2 separate regions of the Homo sapiens genome follow, and region 2 is linked to region 1. Evidence: promoter capture Hi-C in 16 types of primary human blood cells and fetal thymus (Javierre and others, 2016). All regions are on one chromosome and are shown on one strand. Each heading gives the region's core, a stretch centred on a gene start or on the middle of the fragment in contact. The rest is flanking DNA. Distances are from core to core; before and after follow the strand shown. Region 1 holds the start of LSR (lipolysis stimulated lipoprotein receptor). Region 2 holds the start of FFAR3 (free fatty acid receptor 3).

Region 1 (2,762 bases), core at 232-2,731:
TATAAAAAGTGGCCAGGGAAGGTGTCACTGCAATGGTGTCCTACAGGAGGAGGAAGATCATGTGGACATCTGCGGGAAGGGTGTTCTGGCAGAGGGAGTAGCACGGGCGATGGCTCTGAGGACTGTGAGAAGTATAGTTGGAAACAGCGAGGAGGCCAGGGTGTCCGAAGCTGAGTAAGCCAGAGAGAGTGGGAGGAGGTGAGATAAGAGGGGGAAGGTCAGTTTCTGCTGAGAGTGAGGAGGAGCCACAGGAGGGCTGTGAGCAGGTGGACGTGATCTGGCTTGAGTTTTAACAGGGCCAGTAGAACAAAGCACGCCTGGGTACCGAAACCAGCCACTGGCCAGTTGGCAACCTGGGGGAGTCTAACGCGAGGAAGCGCCCAGGGTTCCCCCAGGATGCGCTTTCCCTCGCCGCCACCTGGAGACAGCAGAGTCACGCCCAGCGCTGCGCAGGCTGATCGCCGCGCCGCGCCCCCGCCCTCGGTCGCAGGTGGCTCGTTCCGGGAATTCCTAAGCGGAAACCGGTCCCAAGCCCCGCGCCTTCGCTCGGCCCCTTTAAGAGCCAGAATTTCCGGAGGGCTGACCCGGGGGCTAGGGATGCCCAGGGGCCGAACCACAAGTTGGGAACGGGTGGGGGAGGTGGCGAAAACTTCCGAAGTGGAATTCCAACTTTTCCTGGCCCTGATTCCCCTTGGGCATCCCTGAGGGGGCAGAGCTTCCCTTCCGGGGACTTTAGAGGGTTCCTCAGGTCATCTAACTGGGAGACACAGGAGGCCCGAAGCGCCCCCCCTCCACCCGGTCCGGAGGAACCCCAGTGGAAGTGGAGAAGTCAGGCGCCACCAACAAGCCTCTCCCAGCCAGGACTTTGCTTAGACTCGCTCCTCCCGGCAGGGCGCACCTAGGCGGGTCCATCGCCAGCCGGGGAGAGGGGTTTGGGCAGGGAGGGAACAGGTGCGCGGCGGGACCCGCCCTATCTCAACAGGTGAATCGCTCCAAGTGGGTCTCGGTTGCATGGATCTCGGTGCGCTTGGTTTGGCCGGAGCAGATGGGGGCCGGAAGGGACCTGTGGTCCGCAGGCGCCCTCCCAGCGGGCCAGTCACTTGGTTCGGGCCCTGGGGGACGGAGCGCACCTGGGTCAGCCCACTTCCGGGGAGGGAGGCAGAGGAACCCCTCCCCGCCGCTCACCCCTAAGCCCAGCCCTCGGCTCCCACCCTTGTGTACCTGGGCCGAACCATTCACCGGAGCGCGCAGCGGGTGGAGTGTGGCTCGGAGGACCGCGGCGGGTCAAGCACCTTTCTCCCCCATATCTGAAAGCATGCCCTTTGTCCACGTCGTTTACGCTCATTAAAACTTCCAGAATGCAACAGGACGGACTTGGAGTAGGGACAAGGAACGGAAGTGGGAAGGGGAGGAGCGTGCACCCCTCCTGGCCTTGGTGCGCGCCGCGCCCCCTAAGGTACTTTGGAAGGGACGCGCGGGCCAGACGCGCCCAGACGGCCGCGATGGCGCTGTTGGCCGGCGGGCTCTCCAGAGGGCTGGGCTCCCACCCGGCCGCCGCAGGCCGGGACGCGGTCGTCTTCGTGTGGCTTCTGCTTAGCACCTGGTGCACAGGTACGGGGCACGGGGCCTCTGACGCTGCGGAACGCCGGAGGGAACTGTAGAGGGGGATGGATGGAGTTGGAGGCGGCGGGAAGCGGGAAGCGGGGGTCTCAGAGGCTGGGACCTTCCGATCCCCTGGGTCTTGGGCGATCTGTTGCGCGCGGGAGTGAGAGGAATTCCCCATTTGTGCCGGGGAGCGCTCCCCGCGCCCTTATCTGGAAGATAGCAGGAAGTGAAACTCCCTGGACGGTGAGACCCGGAGCGGCAGGGAGAATGGAACTCTTTGTGGGGAGGGAGTGGAAGACCGCCCGATCTCTGGGAAAAGAAAAGCCGGGATGGGACTTGGGCGCACCCGGGGATTTCTAAGTTTTGGAGTAACGGGGAGAGGGCACGGGAGGGCTGGATCAGACGCTTCCTAGAGGGACAGAGACGAAGGAACAATGCCTAGGCCTCGGGTGGGTGTGGGACTGGGGACTCCCCATCCCCCGCACCCCACCCACCTCCCGCGGGCTCCGGATTATACGTGCGTAAGAGTCTGGTGGGATGGATTTACGGACTTGAAACCGACTTCTGCTGGCAGGCTTTCACCTGGATGGGATATTTGGGTGGTGATGAGGTCTTTCCCGAGACACTTTTGGTTCAGTCATTTGAAATGACTTTAGAGTAGGGTGAGGTGGTGGGAGGCTGATGGAGATATTGTGGGGGCTTTAGTCCCTCCATGGCAAAGCAGTTCAGGCAAACAACTCCATGGTTTTCCCTCCAAATTCAAAAGGCCCCGGGTAACCTGGAATCCTTCGTAGTCGGTTTTGAAGTGGGGCCTTGGGCGCTGGGGGCATCAACATGGCCATCTGGGCTTGCCTGCCCAGGCCACACAGAGGCCCCTTGTTGTGGGTGAATGGCAAAGGGAAGAGGGGACTGGTGTGGTTCAGAGGCCACAGGCTGGGAAGAGGGATGGCGGGCGAGTCCAAGGAAACTGGCCGTGTCACCGTGCACCTGCCACTTCAGCCCCACGGGTCTATAAAATGGGCATGATTATCGTGGCTACCTCACTGGTCCTGGCAATTAAGGAACAATGTGTGCCAGGCACTCTGTAAACCACATACTTGCGAGTGTCAAGCTGGTGACAGGTGGCGTTCCTGTTGAAGCACCTCCCTGAGCTCACA
Region 2 (3,035 bases), core at 134-2,633, 110 kb after region 1:
GAACCCGGGAGGCAGAGTTTGCAGTGAGCCAAGATTGCACCATTGCACTCCAGCCTGGGCGACAACAAGACCCTGTCTCAAAAAAAAAAAAAAAAAAAAAAAAACAACTTAATCTTCATTTCTACCTCCATCCCCCAGACAACCACGAGTCTACTTTCTGACTCTATAACTTTGCCTATTCTGGACATATCATATAAATAAATGAAATCTGACAATATATGTACATGGTCTTTTACGTCTGGCTTGTTTCACTCAACATAAGGCTGTAGTGTGTATGGGTAGCTCATTCCTTTTCTTTGCCAAATAGAATTCCAGTATATGGATGTGCCACTTTTTTATTCACTCACCAGCTGATGGGCTGCCAGGTAACATTTCCACTGTTGGTGACTATGACCAACACTGCTGTGAACATTTAGGACTGAGTCTTTAAGTAGACCTGAGTTTCCACTTCTCTTAAGTAAATACCTACGGTGGAATTGTTGGATCGCATGGTGAATTTATGTTTAACTTTTTAAGCAACTGCCACCTGCTTTCCAAAGCAGGGACACCACCTCCCATTATTCTCACCAGCAGTGAATGAGGCCCCTATCTCTCTACATTCTCGCCGACCATAGGCATTGTCTGACTTTTTGCTTGTGGCCATTCTAGTGGATGTGAAATCATATCTCATTGTGCCCTGTGATTGTTTGAATGAACTAATAGATCACCTGTGAAACTGGACAGCACTTGGGTTTGAACCCTAGTGGTGACATTTCACAAGCTGTATCACCTGGAGCAAGTCACTTCCCTACGGTGAAGGACAAGGATTTTATGACATAAAAGCGTTGCCCTAGAAGCAGTGTCTGCTATGGATTATGTGCCCATGAAAAGGCAGCTGCTGTCATCATCGCCACCACCATTATTATTGTTATTATTATTACATTGTCACCCCAGAGATAATCCTGCACCAGTGACAGGGAAAATAGCAGCTGGCATCCGCTGCCTGCTCACGACCACACGCCAGGCTTCCGTCAAACCACTCAACATGTATTAGTAATCTTTTAATCGACCTACATATTGTTTTAATTTGCATGTGTTAATGCGTTGATCTATGAGATGGGTATTATGATGAGCTCTGTTCTGCAGGGGAGAAAGCAGAAACATGGAGAATTTAAGTCATTTCCCCCAAATCACAAAGTCAGGAAGAAACAGACCTCACGGAGCTCGCTCTCTGTCATTGCATCACACTTCCTGCCCTTACAAGGCAAATTGGATAAATGCCATTCTAGAGAAGCAGACAAAATTCAAGTGAAGAAGGGGAGAGGAAGACGTCGGCTGGGGCCTGCTTAGAGCATCCCAGCTGAGACTGCATGAGGAGGGAGGCACGCAGTTGTGGAATTTGTTCCCCTTTTAGCATGCTGACCAGCCCTGGCAACGGAGCTCAAGGCATCTATGTGCCACTGCTCAACAGTGAGTGACGTCATGGGCACGGCCAGGTCTTTATCAGTTCTGCCGGATAAATAGCCAACTGCACTAGGTCTGGAGAGACAGCAAGGTGCTGTGCGGCAGAGCATTTGGGGTCTCAAAGAAGCAGGTGAGCCTGGGCCCGAGGGGCTGGGTGGAGGAGCACCTTGGTGCTTCTCTGCTGGGGAAGGGACAGGGGACAGGGCATGCTCAGGAAGACAGGCAGGCTGACCCCGCCTGGAAGGCACCCAGAGACAAGAGGGGTGGGCGTAGTGACCTCGTGCCCTTTTAGGGGAGATGCTGCTGGCCAGAGGCCGTTAGGGCCCCCACTACCAACTCCATGTTACTCTCTCTCACCAGTGGCCACCACCATGGATACAGGCCCCGACCAGTCCTACTTCTCCGGCAATCACTGGTTCGTCTTCTCGGTGTACCTTCTCACTTTCCTGGTGGGGCTCCCCCTCAACCTGCTGGCCCTGGTGGTCTTCGTGGGCAAGCTGCAGCGCCGCCCGGTGGCCGTGGACGTGCTCCTGCTCAACCTGACCGCCTCGGACCTGCTCCTGCTGCTGTTCCTGCCTTTCCGCATGGTGGAGGCAGCCAATGGCATGCACTGGCCCCTGCCCTTCATCCTCTGCCCACTCTCTGGATTCATCTTCTTCACCACCATCTATCTCACCGCCCTCTTCCTGGCAGCTGTGAGCATTGAACGCTTCCTGAGTGTGGCCCACCCACTGTGGTACAAGACCCGGCCGAGGCTGGGGCAGGCAGGTCTGGTGAGTGTGGCCTGCTGGCTGTTGGCCTCTGCTCACTGCAGCGTGGTCTACGTCATAGAATTCTCAGGGGACATCTCCCACAGCCAGGGCACCAATGGGACCTGCTACCTGGAGTTCCGGAAGGACCAGCTAGCCATCCTCCTGCCCGTGCGGCTGGAGATGGCTGTGGTCCTCTTTGTGGTCCCGCTGATCATCACCAGCTACTGCTACAGCCGCCTGGTGTGGATCCTCGGCAGAGGGGGCAGCCACCGCCGGCAGAGGAGGGTGGCGGGGCTGTTGGCGGCCACGCTGCTCAACTTCCTTGTCTGCTTTGGGCCCTACAACGTGTCCCATGTCGTGGGCTATATCTGCGGTGAAAGCCCGGCGTGGAGGATCTACGTGACGCTTCTCAGCACCCTGAACTCCTGTGTCGACCCCTTTGTCTACTACTTCTCCTCCTCCGGGTTCCAAGCCGACTTTCATGAGCTGCTGAGGAGGTTGTGTGGGCTCTGGGGCCAGTGGCAGCAGGAGAGCAGCATGGAGCTGAAGGAGCAGAAGGGAGGGGAGGAGCAGAGAGCGGACCGACCAGCTGAAAGAAAGACCAGTGAACACTCACAGGGCTGTGGAACTGGTGGCCAGGTGGCCTGTGCTGAAAGCTAGGTCCTCCGGGGGAGGAGGGTGTAGCTGGCATGTCATCCTCAGGGCGCTTCCTCGCTCACGCCAGGAGGGACTTGGAGTGGCGAGCTGGGGCCCGATGGGGCTTGGGGGCAGAGTAGACATCTAGCCTCCCTAAGGGTATGCGCGCTAAAGCCCAGCTCTCGATCTCACCTCCATCCCCAT

What was found. Contacts are between HindIII fragments. The CHiCAGO score rates a contact against its expected background, and 5 or more counts as called.
Region 2: the fragment with the promoter of FFAR3 here is called in contact with the fragment with the promoter of LSR in region 1 in 2 of 17 cell types (monocytes and neutrophils); the score reaches 7.4 in monocytes.

Annotation. Positions count from the first base shown.
Region 1 is chr19:35,247,521-35,250,282 of GRCh38, forward strand. It overlaps LSR (lipolysis stimulated lipoprotein receptor), which reads left to right and starts at 1,482. Exons shown (of 10, transcript NM_205834.4): 1 at 1,482-1,611. The coding sequence starts at 1,503. RefSeq lists enhancers at 66-235, 369-1,171, 1,172-1,973 and silencers at 1,086-1,165, 1,576-1,645. The HindIII fragment of the contact is 9,039 bases long and covers 1-2,762 here.
Region 2 is chr19:35,357,077-35,360,111 of GRCh38, forward strand. It overlaps FFAR3 (free fatty acid receptor 3), which reads left to right and starts at 1,384. Exons shown (of 2, transcript NM_005304.5): 1 at 1,384-1,573; 2 at 1,804-3,035. The coding sequence starts at 1,815. The coding sequence ends at 2,855. RefSeq lists an enhancer at 2,705-3,035. The HindIII fragment of the contact is 8,969 bases long and covers 1-3,035 here.